5 separate regions of the Homo sapiens genome follow, and all the other regions are linked to region 4. The links are contacts of gene promoters, found by promoter capture Hi-C in blood cells and fetal thymus (Javierre and others, 2016). All regions are on one chromosome and are shown on one strand. The core of a region is centred on a gene start or on the middle of the fragment in contact, and the rest is flanking DNA. Distances in the headings are between cores, read along the strand shown.

The links. Contacts are between HindIII fragments. The CHiCAGO score rates a contact against its expected background, and 5 or more counts as called.
Region 1: a fragment that was not itself captured here is called in contact with the fragment with the promoter of C1QTNF2 in region 4 in 3 of 17 cell types (megakaryocytes, endothelial precursors and M0 macrophages); the score reaches 6.8 in megakaryocytes.
Region 2: a fragment that was not itself captured here is called in contact with the fragment with the promoter of C1QTNF2 in region 4 in 12 of 17 cell types (M2 macrophages, neutrophils, endothelial precursors and 9 more); the score reaches 11.3 in M2 macrophages.
Region 3: a fragment that was not itself captured here is called in contact with the fragment with the promoter of C1QTNF2 in region 4 in 8 of 17 cell types (erythroblasts, megakaryocytes, M2 macrophages and 5 more); the score reaches 9.1 in erythroblasts.
Region 5: a contact is called between a fragment that was not itself captured here and the fragment with the promoter of C1QTNF2 in region 4, in 1 of 17 cell types (neutrophils). The highest score is 5.5, in neutrophils.

Annotation. Positions count from the first base shown.
Region 1 is chr5:160,014,778-160,017,477 of GRCh38, forward strand. All of the region lies in intron 2 of TTC1 (tetratricopeptide repeat domain 1), which reads left to right. LOC124901124 (a long non-coding RNA gene) reads left to right here. Exons shown (of 2, transcript XR_007059025.1): 1 at 1-2,700. Among named protein-coding and RNA genes, the nearest start is that of TTC1, 7.0 kb to the left of the region's middle. The HindIII fragment of the contact is 1,843 bases long and covers 429-2,271 here.
Region 2 is chr5:160,031,076-160,033,775 of GRCh38, forward strand. The region is part of intron 2 of TTC1 (tetratricopeptide repeat domain 1); the gene reads left to right. Among named protein-coding and RNA genes, the nearest start is that of TTC1, 23 kb to the left of the region's middle. The HindIII fragment of the contact is 3,077 bases long and covers 1-2,700 here.
Region 3 is chr5:160,047,356-160,050,055 of GRCh38, forward strand. It overlaps TTC1 (tetratricopeptide repeat domain 1), which reads left to right. Exons shown (of 8, transcript NM_003314.3): 6 at 2,159-2,307. It also overlaps a transcript of PWWP2A not described here. Among named protein-coding and RNA genes, the nearest start is that of TTC1, 40 kb to the left of the region's middle. The HindIII fragment of the contact is 2,049 bases long and covers 249-2,297 here.
Region 4 is chr5:160,369,211-160,371,910 of GRCh38, forward strand. C1QTNF2 (C1q and TNF related 2) reads right to left here and starts at 1,416. Exons shown (of 3, transcript NM_031908.6): 1 at 1,302-1,416. The HindIII fragment of the contact is 8,188 bases long and covers 1-2,700 here.
Region 5 is chr5:159,996,067-159,998,766 of GRCh38, forward strand. No RefSeq gene overlaps it. Among named protein-coding and RNA genes, the nearest start is that of TTC1, 12 kb to the right of the region's middle. The HindIII fragment of the contact is 3,133 bases long and covers 1-2,700 here.

The DNA of each region.
Region 1 (2,700 bases), core at 100-2,599, 350 kb before region 4:
GCTGATTCTCTTGTAGCCATTTATTTCAAGGAAATTATTAGAAATATACACAAATGTATATACATAGATGTGTTGCAGCATCATTCATAATTTTGGAAAGCTAGACAATGTTAAACAGGGTATTTGTAGTATAGTAAATTTATTTGGTCTTTGTCCCTGGTTCCTGTTACAGAGCCACTAGAACCCTTGGAATTTTCTGATAGTGTAGTGTATTTTTTTGTTATTCTTAATGTACCCCTTTTGATAACACCTGAGTTCATCCTAATGAGATAACTTTTAGGATCTGGCCTATCTATAGCCTAAGGAAGGATGGGGCCAGTCACCAAAAAGACTAAGTGATTAGAGTTTTAGAGGGTTGGAACTTTTGGCACCACCTACCAAAATCCAGGAAAGGAGGAGGGCAAGTGCTGGAGATTAAGCTCCATTAAAGCTTTTTTCTTCTTGTGTTTTGAGCCAAGTCTCGCTCTGTTGCCCAGGCTGGAGTGCAGAGGTGCGATCATAGTTCACTGGAGGCTTCAACCTCCTGGGCTCAAGCAATCCTCCTACATCAATGTCCCAAGTGGCTGGGACCACAGGCGCCTTCCACCACACCTTGCTAAATTTTTTTGTGTTTGAAATGAAGTCTTACTATGTTGCCCAGGCTGGTCTCGAACTCCTGGACTCAAGCAATATTCCCATCTCAGCTTCCCACAGTGCTAGGATTACAGGTGTGAGCTGCTGCGCCTGGCCTATAAAAACTCTTGAACTAGAAATCTGATGAGCTTCCAGGTTGATGAGCACATGGAAGTGTTAAGAGGGTAGCACCCAGAGAGGGCGTGGCAGCTCTGCACCCCTTCTCCCTCTACCTTTCCCTGTGTGTCTCTTCACCTGGCTGTTCTATATCATTCATAATGTCCTTTGTAATAAACTACTAAGTGTAAGTAAAGTGTTTCCCAGAGTTCTGTGAGCCATTCTAGCAAATTATTGAACCCACAGAGAGGGTGGTAAGAACCCTGTGCTAACCATTCAGTCGGAATCATAGGTCACAACCTGGGACTTGTGATTAGTGTCTGAAGTGGGGCCAGGCTTATGAGACTAAACTCTTAACCTGTGGGATCAGACACTGTCTACCTGGAGATAGTGACAGAACTGAATTGAATTATAGGACACTCCGTTGGTGTCCATTGGAGAATTGTTTAGTGTGGAAAACACTCTCATCTGGTGTCAGACCTATTGGGAGGGTATAGTAGGAGAGAAAAATGTGTTCTTCCCAGAGTATTACTTAAATTTTGTTGTTATATTTATGTAGTATACAATGCAGTTGTTAAAGGTAAATCTTGGCCGGGTGCAGTGGCTCATGCCTATAATCCCAGCACTTTGGGAGGCCAAGGTGGGCAGACCACTCAAGACCAGGAATTCAAGACCAGCCTGGCCAACATGGTGAAACCCCATCTCTACTAAAAATACAAAAATTAGCCAGGTATGGCGGTGCACACCTATAGTCCCAGCTACTTAGAAGGCTGAGGCACGAGAATTGCTTGAACCTAGGAGGCGGAGGTTGCAGAGAGCCGAGATCACGCCACTGCACTCCAGCCTGGGTGACAGAATGAGACTCTGTCTCAATAAATAAATAAATAATTTAAAAAATTTTTTTAAAAAGATGAATCGTAGGTATTGACCTGGGAAGCTGCCTGTAATATAATGTCAAATTAATTAATCAGGTTATACAACAGTGATGATTTCTTTTAAGGCTATGTGAAAATATGTTTATACATACAAATTTGAAGGATATACACCAAAGTATAAGCAGTAAGTAACTTTGAGAGGTATGATTATTAGGGAATTTTAATTTATATGTAATGCAATTTTGTAATATTTGCTTTTTTTTTCAGTAAGCCTGTATTACATTATTCCATTTTAAGAATATAAATAAATAAAAATTGATTACTTTACAACCAAACTGTGTGCCCTACCACAAAAGCACATGAAGCTGACCCCTGATGATTTGGGAAAGAAGTGCTATTCCGTACAGGGTCTATGTAGTATTAAAGGTTTCTTGTTGGACACAACCAAATAATAGTAGCCAAAGTCTGTTAATCAAGCTAACTTCACTTGTCCTGTGGCTGGGAAGATAATTCACGCTCAAGTGTAGTGTCACTTCTCAGCAGGACTCATAAATCAAGAATAATTGAGGAGGAAAGCAGTTAAGATTTGGTAAAAACAGGAAAAGCTCTCAGAGAGTATAGTGTATTCGTGTGTTTATTTCAGCAGTAAATCTTAACTATTTGTGAAAGCTTAAATGTAGATATAACTACCCACAGGAATGGAATTTTAGCTAACATTTGAGATGTACTAGGTATGTGAAGCAAATAACTGGTTCTGAGAGGCTTGGCTAAGGTGAAGGACAAATGTAGCAGCAGAAGAGAATTGCAATAATAACATTATGATACAAAAATTCTATCTTAGTGTGTTGGAGCTGCTATAACAAAATACCTTAGACTGGATAACTTATAAATAATAGAAATTTATTGCTCATAATTCTGGAGGCTGAGAAGTCCAAGATCAAGGTGCCAGCAATTTTAGTGTCTGGTGAGGGCCTCTTCCTTACAGATGGCACCATTTGTGTCCCTACATGGCAGCAGGGGCAGGGCAGCTCCCTTCAACCTCTTTTATTAGGACACTAATCCATTCATGAGGTTGGAACCCTTATGACTTAATCAC
Region 2 (2,700 bases), core at 85-2,584, 340 kb before region 4:
CAGAAAAAAACTCCAGTCTTTGTACTGGGATCATCAATTCAGTCTCGGCACAGCTGGGAAATAGTTCAACTTTCTCCTCAAAGTGCTATTTTTAGCTGTTTCCAAGGAGATGTTCAGCATGATACTGATAATTGCATTACTCTTAATTTGCACAATCTGTGGAGAGGGAAGCAGCAGTTCTTTTTCAATGTTTACTACTCAGTGGGCCACTGGGTTGTGATTTATCCGTTGAAACAATAGGATGCCTCACTTAGAATAATTGACCTTAGCTCACACCTGTAATCCCAGAACTTTGGGAGGCCAAGGCAGGTGAATCACTTGAGGCCTGGAGTTCAAGACCAGCCTGGGTAACATGGCAAAACCCCCATCTCTACTAAAAATACAAAAAATTAGCCAGGTGTGGTGGTGCATGCCTGTAAACACAGCTACTCGGGAGGCTGAGGCACAAGAATCACTTGAATCTGGGAGGCAGAGGTTGCAGTGAGCCAAGATCATGCCACTGCACTCCAGACTGGGTGATGGAGTGAGACTCTGTCTCAAAAAAAATAAATAAATAAATAAAAAATAACCTCAGAATTACATTCTGGAGCCTTTCGCTTTGCTACCTCAACTTTCAGTCCTTCAAGTTATAAAGGCAAGATGAGGGCTGGGCACACTGGCTCACACCTATAATCCCAACACACTAGGAGGCTGAGATGAGAAGACTGCTTGAGCCCAGGAGTTCAAGACCAACCTGGCCAACACAGTAAGACCCCATCTCTACTAAAAACAGAAAGAAATTACCTAGGGGCAGTGGTGCTTGCTTATAGTCCCCGCTACTCAAAAGGATTGCTTGAGTCCAGGAGTTCAAGTTTACAGTAAACTCTTATGGTGCCACTGCACTCCAGCCTGGGCAACAGAAGGAGACCTTGTCTCTGAAAATAAAAATAAAGACATGGTAAGTATTTCTCGAGCTGGCTGCTCAGGCCGGCCCGTAGCACTGATTCCTTTCTGTATACTTGAGACGTGGTTTTGCCCATTGGGAACTTGATGTTATAAATTTCCCAAAGAATGATTGGTCTCCTAAAACATGAACACACATACACACGCTTACTTCACAAGAGCCTAATCCGGCAATCTGATTGATTCATCTGTGTTCATAGAATATTCCTAATGAGTTGGCTCTGAAGAGAAGATTATAGATCAGAAAATAGCTTAAGATTTACAGTCAATGCTAAAGAAATTGAAAACTCTTAAAGAGTGGGCATTAAGATCTAGTAACTTGATGATTTAACCCCTCTCTAAAGAATTTGTTTCTTAAATAACTGTTAACTGAATTTGTTATGTTGTCTTGGCTCTCCAACATCCAACACCCCTTCCTATTTGGAGGAATTCTCTTGTGTTGTGATCTTGTTGAGTGGCAGTACCCCATGTCTCTCACTTCATCCTCTGATAACCAAGGCTTGTGATCGATGCTTGGTATATTAGATGCTTCTGACCAAGATCTTAAATCTAGATTGAGTGAAGCAAAGACAATGGAATGGTTAGAGTTGATTTGCTGTCATTGCAGCCCTGTCCTGGCAAGTCTTTCACTAAAAGACATGCATTCTGCTTCTTAACAGAGCCTCCTTGAGTTCTACCTGCTTTCTTTTTTTTTTTTTTTTTTTTTTTTTTTTTTGAGACGGAGTCTCACTCTGTCGCCAGGCTAGAGTGCAGTGGCGCGGCCTTGACTCACTCCAGCCTCCGCCTCCCAGGTTCGAGTGATTCTCCTGCCTCAGACTCCTGAGTAGCTGGGACTACAGGCGCCTGCCACCACACCCAGCTAATTTTTTTTTTTGGGGGGGTATTTTTAGTAGAGACAGGGTTTCACTATGTCGGCCAGGATGGTCTCAATCTCTTGACCTCATGATCTGCCTGCCTCAGCCTCCCAAAGTGCTGGGATTACAGGCGTGAGCCACCACGCCCAGCCAAGTTCTACCTGCTTTCTAAGCCTATTCGTTAAGCCTCTCACTGATTCTGTGAGCACTGATACCTTGCCAGTAAACCTGCCCCCTAAAGTTTTTTGCTTAAGATAGTCTTTTGCTTGCATCCAGTAACCCTAATCAATACAGTAGAGATCATTACAATCTAAGCATCTTTCTTATGGGTAGTACTAGGTAAATATGGCCATATTCTTATATTTTATTTTTTTCTGAATTCCTTTAGAATAGCCCTTCCCTCAGATACGTTATATCTTAAAATGAATTGTTATTTGTACCTGCTGTGTGTCTGGCACATAGTATGTACCATAAAAATTAGATTCACTCTATACTTACCTTTTAGTTTCCTCACTGAGATTCATCAAGTGCTCTGTTTAATCCATAGTGTAATAATAAGACATTTGGGAAATACCCGGTCTCATCAATAGCATATTGACAAATCTTTTCCAGAGAAAGAATGTTTTTATTTTGGTTCCTGTATTAATCCATTTTCACACTGCTATTAAGAATTGCCTGAGAGTGGGTGATTTATAAACAAAAGAGGTTGAATTGACTCACAGTTCCACATGGCTATAGAGGCCTCAGGAAACTTAACAATCATGGCGGAAAGTGAAGAGAAAGCTGATGGTTTTAAAGTGTGGCACTTGAAAACCATCAGTTCTCATGAAAGTGAACTCACTATCATGAGAACAACATGGGGGAACCGTCCCCATGATCCAGGGTCCGTCCCTTGACCCGTGGG
Region 3 (2,700 bases), core at 23-2,522, 320 kb before region 4:
TTCTTTCGTGTCACATGGCTAATTGATTAATTAGCAAGTTCCATGGGCTCAAATTTAAAGACATATTTAATGTAATCCGGCTGCTGTTTTCCATCTCTACTACTTCCAGCTTAGACCAAGCCAACATCTTCTCTCATCTGGACCACTGCATTAGCTTTCCAGCTGATCTCACAGCTTTCAGTCTTGCCCCACCCGCCAACACTACAGCCAAAGCAGTCCTTCAAAAATGTAAATCAGAGTATGTCTGAAGCTTGCTTGAAAACTTTCCAGTGGCTTCTCATCACACTGAGGAAAAAGTCCAAACTCCTTTCCCTGGCCAGGAAGGTCCTCCATGGCCCTACATTTCAGCCTCTGATCCCCAGCCTGATAACTCACATGCCAGAGTTATTCTTGTTGGTCCCTCTTCCTGGCACGCTCCTCCTTAGCCTTTCACATGGCTGGCCTCTCTCACATAGTCCCTCTTCATATTCTGAGACCACTTTCTGAAGTTACCTCATTTCTCGCTTCACTTGTATTTCCATGACCTTGTTTTATTTTTCATTATAGTACTATGGCTATTGAAATTATATACCTGTCTGTTCTTGCCTACTAGAATAGCATAAGGCTTCATGAGAACAAGGACTGTGTCTGTCTTGTTTCCCACTATAGCCCAGAGACATACTACATTGGACGTATATATTAAGTACTAAATAAATGTTCACAGAAAGCATGAATTTAAAAATTAAGGATAGATTATGAGAAAAGAAAAAAGTTCTAGAGCCAAGACATTGCTTTTTTTTTTTTTTTTTTTTTTTTTTTTTTTTTTTTGGGACAGAGTATTATCTCTCTGTTGCCCGGGCTGGAGTACAGTGATGCAATCGCCACTCACTGCACGCAACCTCCGCCTCCTGGGTTCAAGTGATTCTTATGCCTAAACCACCCAAATAGCTGGGATTATAGACCCACACTGCCACGCCCAGCTAATTTTTGTATTTTTAGTAGTGATGGGGTTTCGCCATGTTGGCTAGGCTGACGGTCTCAAAGTCCTGACCCCAATTGACCTGCCTGCCTCGGCCTCCCAAAGTGCTGGGATTATGGGCCTGAGCCACCACACCCGGCCAGCACTGCTTTCTAATAGAAAAAGAAACAACTTGGAAGAAATTAGAAGAAATGCAGTATGTTGAACCAAAACATAGCAAAGGATTATTAGAAGGGCAGCTGATGCTGGATAAAGGAAAAGATATTATGCATCAACCACCTCATAGTGCTGGAGCAGTAGTTTGAGGGTTGAAGGAACAGTGAGGATTTAACTAGAAATATAATCTTAGTACTCAAGACCTAGAAAAAAGAGAATGATAGTCTGCCACCAGATTGGTTTCCCTTAACTCTTTAATTTGTATCTTCAAATTCTCTCTCACCTAGCCTGGCCAACATAATGAAACCCCATCTCTACTAAAAATACAAAAATTAGCCGGGCATGGTGGCGCATGCCTGTAATCCCAGCTACGTGGGAGGCTGAGGTAGGAGAATCGCTTGAACCTGGGAGGAGGTGGTTGTAGTGAGCCAAGATCACACCACTGCACTCCAGCCTGGGTGACAGAGCGAGACTCCGTCTAAAAAAAAAAAATTCTCTCTCACTCTTTCACTGCGCACTTGAACTCTGTTCTGGCCTGTCCTGGACTGGGTAAATGACAAGTAGGCAAAAACCAGGACTTGGAGTATAGACCAGGATATGGCAAACTACAGCCACAAGCCAAATCCAGCCTGCCACCTGTTTTTGATAGCCTAAAAGCTAAGAATGGTTTTTACAGTTTTAAATCATTGGAAAGCAAAATATTTCATGATAATGTGAAAATTATGTGAACTTAAATTTTAGTGTCCATAAATAGTTTATTGGAACACACCTATCCTTTTTTGTTTACATATTATCTGTGCCTGCTCTCGTGCTACAATAGTATCATTGAGGAGCTGCGACACAGATGGTCTGTCTGACCCACAAAGCCTACAATCTTTACTATCTTGCTCTTTATAGAAAAAGTTTTCCAGCATCAGGTATACACTTGGCAAATGACTCTTCCTTTCGTATCCTTGGAGGATGATTGATGAAGGAATCTGATATAGCCAAAGATATGTAGGCCATTTTTCTTTGTGATAAAAATTATTTCTTCTCTTTTTACAGCAATTCAATTAAACCCCAGCTATATCAGGGCAATATTGAGGAGAGCAGAGTTGTATGAGAAGACGGACAAGCTAGATGAAGCCCTGGAAGACTATAAATCTATATTAGAAAAAGATCCATCAATACATCAAGCAAGAGAAGCTTGTATGGTAAAACCTAAAATTTTAAAAATATTTTTCCTTCTATTCTTTGTGTTGCTACCCAGTGAGTCCTAAATAATCCTTTCAGACACAATTAAATTCCATTTCTGTGCTTTTGAGGAGCTTATCAAGATATATGGGAGGCCAGGCGCAGTGGCTCTTGCCTGTAATCCCAGCACTTTAGGAGGCCAAGGAGGAGAGATCACTTGAGGCCAGGAGCTCGAGACCAGCCTGGCCAACACAACAAAACCCCATCTCTTCTAAAAATACAAAAAATTAGCCGGGTGTGGTCGTACACATCTGTAATCCTAGCTACTCGGGAGGCAGGAGAATTGCTTGAACCCAGAAGGCAGAGGTTGCAGTGAGCTGAGATCATGCCACTACACTGCAGCCTGGGCAACA
Region 4 (2,700 bases), core at 166-2,665:
TGAACTGTTCGAATTTCTTGTGATGAGCGTCGTTACTTTTATAACATTTAAAACAAAAGGTAAACCTAAGGTTTAAGGATTGGAAGACTGGTAAGTGTGGTATCCCTGCTAGGAGATGGGGAGAAGTCAGACATTTGGGAGGAAACAAATTCTGCAGTGAATCTGATGTGTTACAATGAAGGGCTGTAGTGATGCTTGGAAATGTGTGGAGAGTTTGAGGATCGGGCAGTTGAAAGCAGGAGTAATTGATATAATTACTCCAGATGACAGAATAAATTAGAGAATGGTGCAGAGGGAGGGCAAAAATAAGGATGTGAGAGGACAGATTTTTAACAGTGCTAACTGAGCACCAGCCTTGGATTGACCTATGTAAGACATTGTCTTTCTATTACTGCTACTTCAGCATGGTGGAAACACAGGGTCTCTGAGAGATGGCCAGTCTAAGGAAGGGACCTCTGCAGGCTTCCAAGCAGGGCAATTTTGTGGTCAAGGAGCAGAGGAGGATCACAATGAGGTAATGCAAGGGACTCATGGTGTCAGAGGAGAGACCTGGGCTGGGAGACTATTAGGGCCCACTGCAATTATTTAGCTGAAAAGCGAGGTCCTAGAATGGGGCAGCAGCAGTGGGGATGGAGAAATAAGGACAAAGCATATTAAGACAAGTAGTTTAGGTGGGGAAGGAGAGTGAAGAGAGTCATGAGGCATTGAGTACAAATCTCTGCCTGCCGTTCAATACCTTTTGAGCTCAGTTTGCCAGTCTGTATCATATATTTAAATAAATGTGAAGGTTAAGTGAAATAATGCATTCAGTAAATGTTAACTGTGATTGTTAGCTCGGGTATTGGACTCAGATTTACCAGACTTCAAGTCCCTTTTTTATCAATTACTAGCTGTGCAACCCTGTCCAAGTCATTAATGTCTCTGAGCCCAGTTCCTCTTTTGTAGACGGGGATAATCTGTTGTCATGAAAATGAAAGAGCACAAGTAAAGTGCTAGCAGGACTTGGCACAAAGTAGGCGCTCAATAAATGGCAGAGCTACGGGTGTTACTATTGTAACGGGTAAACCACTGGGCACAGAGCCTGGCACACAGTAAGGACTCAAAACATGTTAATTTGTATTATAATACGAAGGTAGAAGTCGAGAGGCAGGAATGCAGGAGCTGCCCAGCCCGCAATAAAGGCGCGCTGGCAGCTCTCCCACCTTCCGCATCCCGCCCCGCCCGCAGCAGTGCGAGTCCTCCTCCTCCTCCTCCCCGCGCGCACTTGCCGCCCCCGCCCGACCGCGGTGCGGGACACTCACCCTCGCGGCTGCCCGCCACGTCCAGGGGCGTCCGGAGCAAAGAAGCTCTCGGCGGGGCTCCGCGTCCCGGCTTTCCTCAGCGGCAGCAGCCGGGCAGAGCGTCGGCCCCAGGCATAGTTTTCCCATCCCGTCATGGGCGGGAGAGCCTTCCTCCCGGTCACGTGGGCTGGCCCGCAGCGCAGCATTCTCTTTTTAGCAGCTGTTTGGAAAAAACTTGCAGTGCTGATGACAACTCGGGTGTGTCGATGCATCTCTGCGTTTGTAGAGCTTGTTAGCGTATTTGGAGGTTTTGTGCGCCAGAGTGATCAGAGTGATTGTTTCCCACGCGTTTGCAAAGGTGTGCATGTACTTGAGTGTGATGATAAATCATAGGGATGTGTTTAGTTGTGTGTGTGCGTACGTGCGTTTATCCAAATTTTCATCAGGGCTGTTCGGTGTATGTACACATGCATGCACATGTCCAAGATGGCAGCTTGGTGTAAAACTGGAGGGCACATCAGTGGTTGGATGTACACGATAGTGGCTAGACATCTGTATGTGGGGTGCATGTTTAAATGTGTGTGTGACTGTGCAGGGGCTCATTCTGTGTGTTGGTTTGACATCTGTATGTGGGGTGTATGTTTAAATGTGTGTATGACTGTGCAGTGGCTCATTCTATGTGTTGATTTCTATGCATGCCTTGGTGTGGATTTTGTCCGGATGTGAGTGTGCACATACACACTAGTGTGGGTGAGTTCCCCTGTGTACCAGCTCTCATTTCTCTTCTCCCCAGAAGGTGAGGATTCACTGGTCTCACTCACTCTGGCCCAGCCTCAAGTCATTGAGAGACTTATGGAGGGTCTCAGCTCCCAGGATAGGCAAAGCAATCCTATTTGGGAATCAAGCAGGCACTGGAGGAAAGGAAATCCTCCAAGGCCTGGCTTTTGCTTCTCCCTGTTCCTTCCACTGCTCTCTTCCACTAGCTACCCATATTTCACTCTGCACAGCCAGAGCATCTGGTTAACAGCTGGTAAGTGACACAAAATTTACAGTCAGAATTTTAATACAGATATGCATTTGAATTCTAATGTTGTATCCACCACCTTAATCAAGTCAGATAATCTCACAGATGGTGTTTTATTTTCTAAAAAAAATGGGAGAATAATATTACCTGCACTGCCTTTACCCCAAAGTTGGGACACTAACTCATAAAGATGTTTGGTAAGCCATTGAACTATGTAGGGAATTATTACTAATATCACATAAATACTATTTGAGAAAGAAAGTTTGTAGGCTTAACAAACATTCATTCAACAAATATTTAATAAGCATCCATTGTGTGTCAGTCCCCAAGCAAGGTGCTGGGGACATAGAGGGAAACAAATAGGCTTGATGCCTACCCTCATGAAACTTAGAGTCC
Region 5 (2,700 bases), core at 80-2,579, 370 kb before region 4:
CCTCTCCCTGGGACATGGTAAGTATTTCCTCAGGCTGACTTTGAGGCAGTGGACCAAAGCTGCAGCTGGAGAAAGCGGGCTGGGGTTGGGGAGGGCTTAATGGGATTTTGAGTCTGTGTGAGTGATTTTTAAGCTGTGAGTCAATTTGGTAGAAAGAGCACTGAACTGCAATCCACTGAAACAGTAATAATAATAATAGCTGCTTTTTGCTGTGCCAGGCACTGCCTAAGTCCTCTGTATCTTCTAATCCTCACCAAAAAACCTTAAATGAAGGACTTAGGGCTCAGAGAGAGTAAGTCACCCAGCCAGGAAGAGCTGTGTATCAGTTAGGGGAGTGAGTTTGGCTGCACATAACAGAACACACATAACAGTGGCTTGAACAAATCAAAAAGGGCTGTTTGTTTATTTTTTCTCTCATATGAGAAGTCTGGAAGTAGGCAGTCTGGGGACAGTGGGGATAGTATGGCAAATCCACACTGTCAGGAGAGGCCCATGGCCCTTCTAGTGTTTCCCTACTCTGTCCTTAAAATGTGGCCATAATGTCCCTCTTCCAGGCAGGAAGAAATATGGCAAAGACAAAAGGCACATACAGGGCCAGGTGTGGTGGCTTATACCTGCAATCCCAGCCACTCAGGAGACCAAGGTGGGAGGGTTGCTTGAGCCCAGGAGTTTGAGACCAGCCTGGACTGCATAGCAAGATCCCCTCTACAAAGAAATTTAAAAACAAAAAATTATCCAGGCATGGTGGTACGCCCCTATAGTCCCAGCTACTCAGGAGACTGAGGCAAGAGGATCACTTGAGCCCAGGAGCTGCAGGTTGCTGTGAACTATGATTGCACCACTGCACTGCAGGCTGGGCAACAGAGTGGGACTCTGTCTATAAAAACAAACAAACTGGCCAGGTGTGGTGGCTCATGCCTGTAATCCCAGCACTTTGGGAGGCTGAGGCCAGTGGATCACCTGAGGTCAGAAGTTCGAGACCAGCCTGGCAACATGGTGAAACCCTGTCTCTACGAAAAATACAAAAATCAGCCGGGCATGGTAACGGGTGCCTGTAATCCCAGCTACTTGGGAGGCTGAGGCAGGAGAATCGCTTGAACCCAGGAGGCGGAGGTTGCAGTGAGCCAAGATCGTGCCACTGCAATCCAGCCTGGGTGACAAAGTGAGACTGTCTAAAAACAAACAAACAAACATTCTCCTCCAGTGTGGCAAAAAGAATTTTTGAAATCAAATAAAAACAAACAAAAAGACACATACAGCTGAGTTTGCCCTCTGTTACAGAGATTTCCAGAAAGTCTCATCTCTCTGCTTCTACTGTGTTGTGTGGCCAGTTTTCTACAAATGCCTATTGTGTCACTGGTACTGTGCTAAGATTTTACATATATTGTTACATTTATTCCTCATAACAGCCTTATAGAGAAGGAATTACCAACCTCTGGGTTCTAGTTTATTCCCTGCTATGTGGCTAAAATGTCTTAGATAAATCACATTCCCTCTCTGGACCTCATTTGTTCATCTGCTTTATGAGGGATTGGACTAGATAAGGAGTTCCTAACTTGAGATCTACAAACCCCTAAAGGGACAATGGATAAAATTTAGAGGGAAGGGTCATGACTTTAGATAGGGGGAAAATTACATTCTTATCTTCACTAACTTTTTTTTTTTTTTGAGACAGAGTCTTGCACTGTCACCCAGGCTGGAGTGCAGTGGCCCAATCTCGGCTCACTGCAACCTCTGCCTCCCAGTTTTAAGCAATTCTCCTGCCTCAGCCTCCCAAGTAGCCAGGATTACAGATGACCACCACCCCGCCTGGCTAATTTTTGTATTTTCAGTAGAGATGGGGTTTCACCATGTTGGCCGGGCTGGCCTCAAACTCCCGACCTCAGGTGATCCTCCTGCCTCGGCCTCCCAAAGTGCTAGGATTACAGGCGTAAGCCACCGCGCCTGGCCTCTAACTTTTAACTGAAATTTAGTTTTTCCTTCTTTTATGAACTTAGCCAATAGAACATAGTAATATTAGCAGAGCTTTTGACTTTATCACCAAAAGAATATCAGATATTTCATAGCATATTACAGTTGTTTCAGATGACTTGAAATATTGAATATACTCATCACTACTTCAAAATTGTGGTAGTTATTACACCTGCTATACTTAATGTGTTAATAAAAAGGAGTGTGTGTGTAGACAAACAGAATATGTAGATACGTAGATATATATATCTTGCTAATTTTATTGTTAGTATTATAGGAACTGTATTTCAATATAATTTATTTCCTTCATATTCCAGTATATTTTGTTTTATGCATTTAAAAAAATTTCTCTGAGAAGCGATCCAGAGGCTTCAGCAGCCCACCAAAGGAGTTCATAGAACAAATGAGATGAAGAACTGGACAGAGATCTCTTTGTCCCTCCGGCTATAAATATAACTCTGTCATAAGCTATCGTGGTCTTCCTGATCAAGTCCTTTCAGCTCTCAATTTCCTCAGTTTCTCTTCGGTAAAATGGAAGTAATACTTGCTTTGTCTAGCTCAGAGCTGTTAGGGGAACCAAAGTAATCTTCATGTAAGCACACACGAATGCAGAGCTTACGCATTTTCAATTACACAGGATCGGCTTCTGTAGTGCTGAGTGAATGTTGAGTCTTACTATATTCTTCAACTTGAGACCTATTTCCCAGAGACGCTGATGTTTTTCTGTCA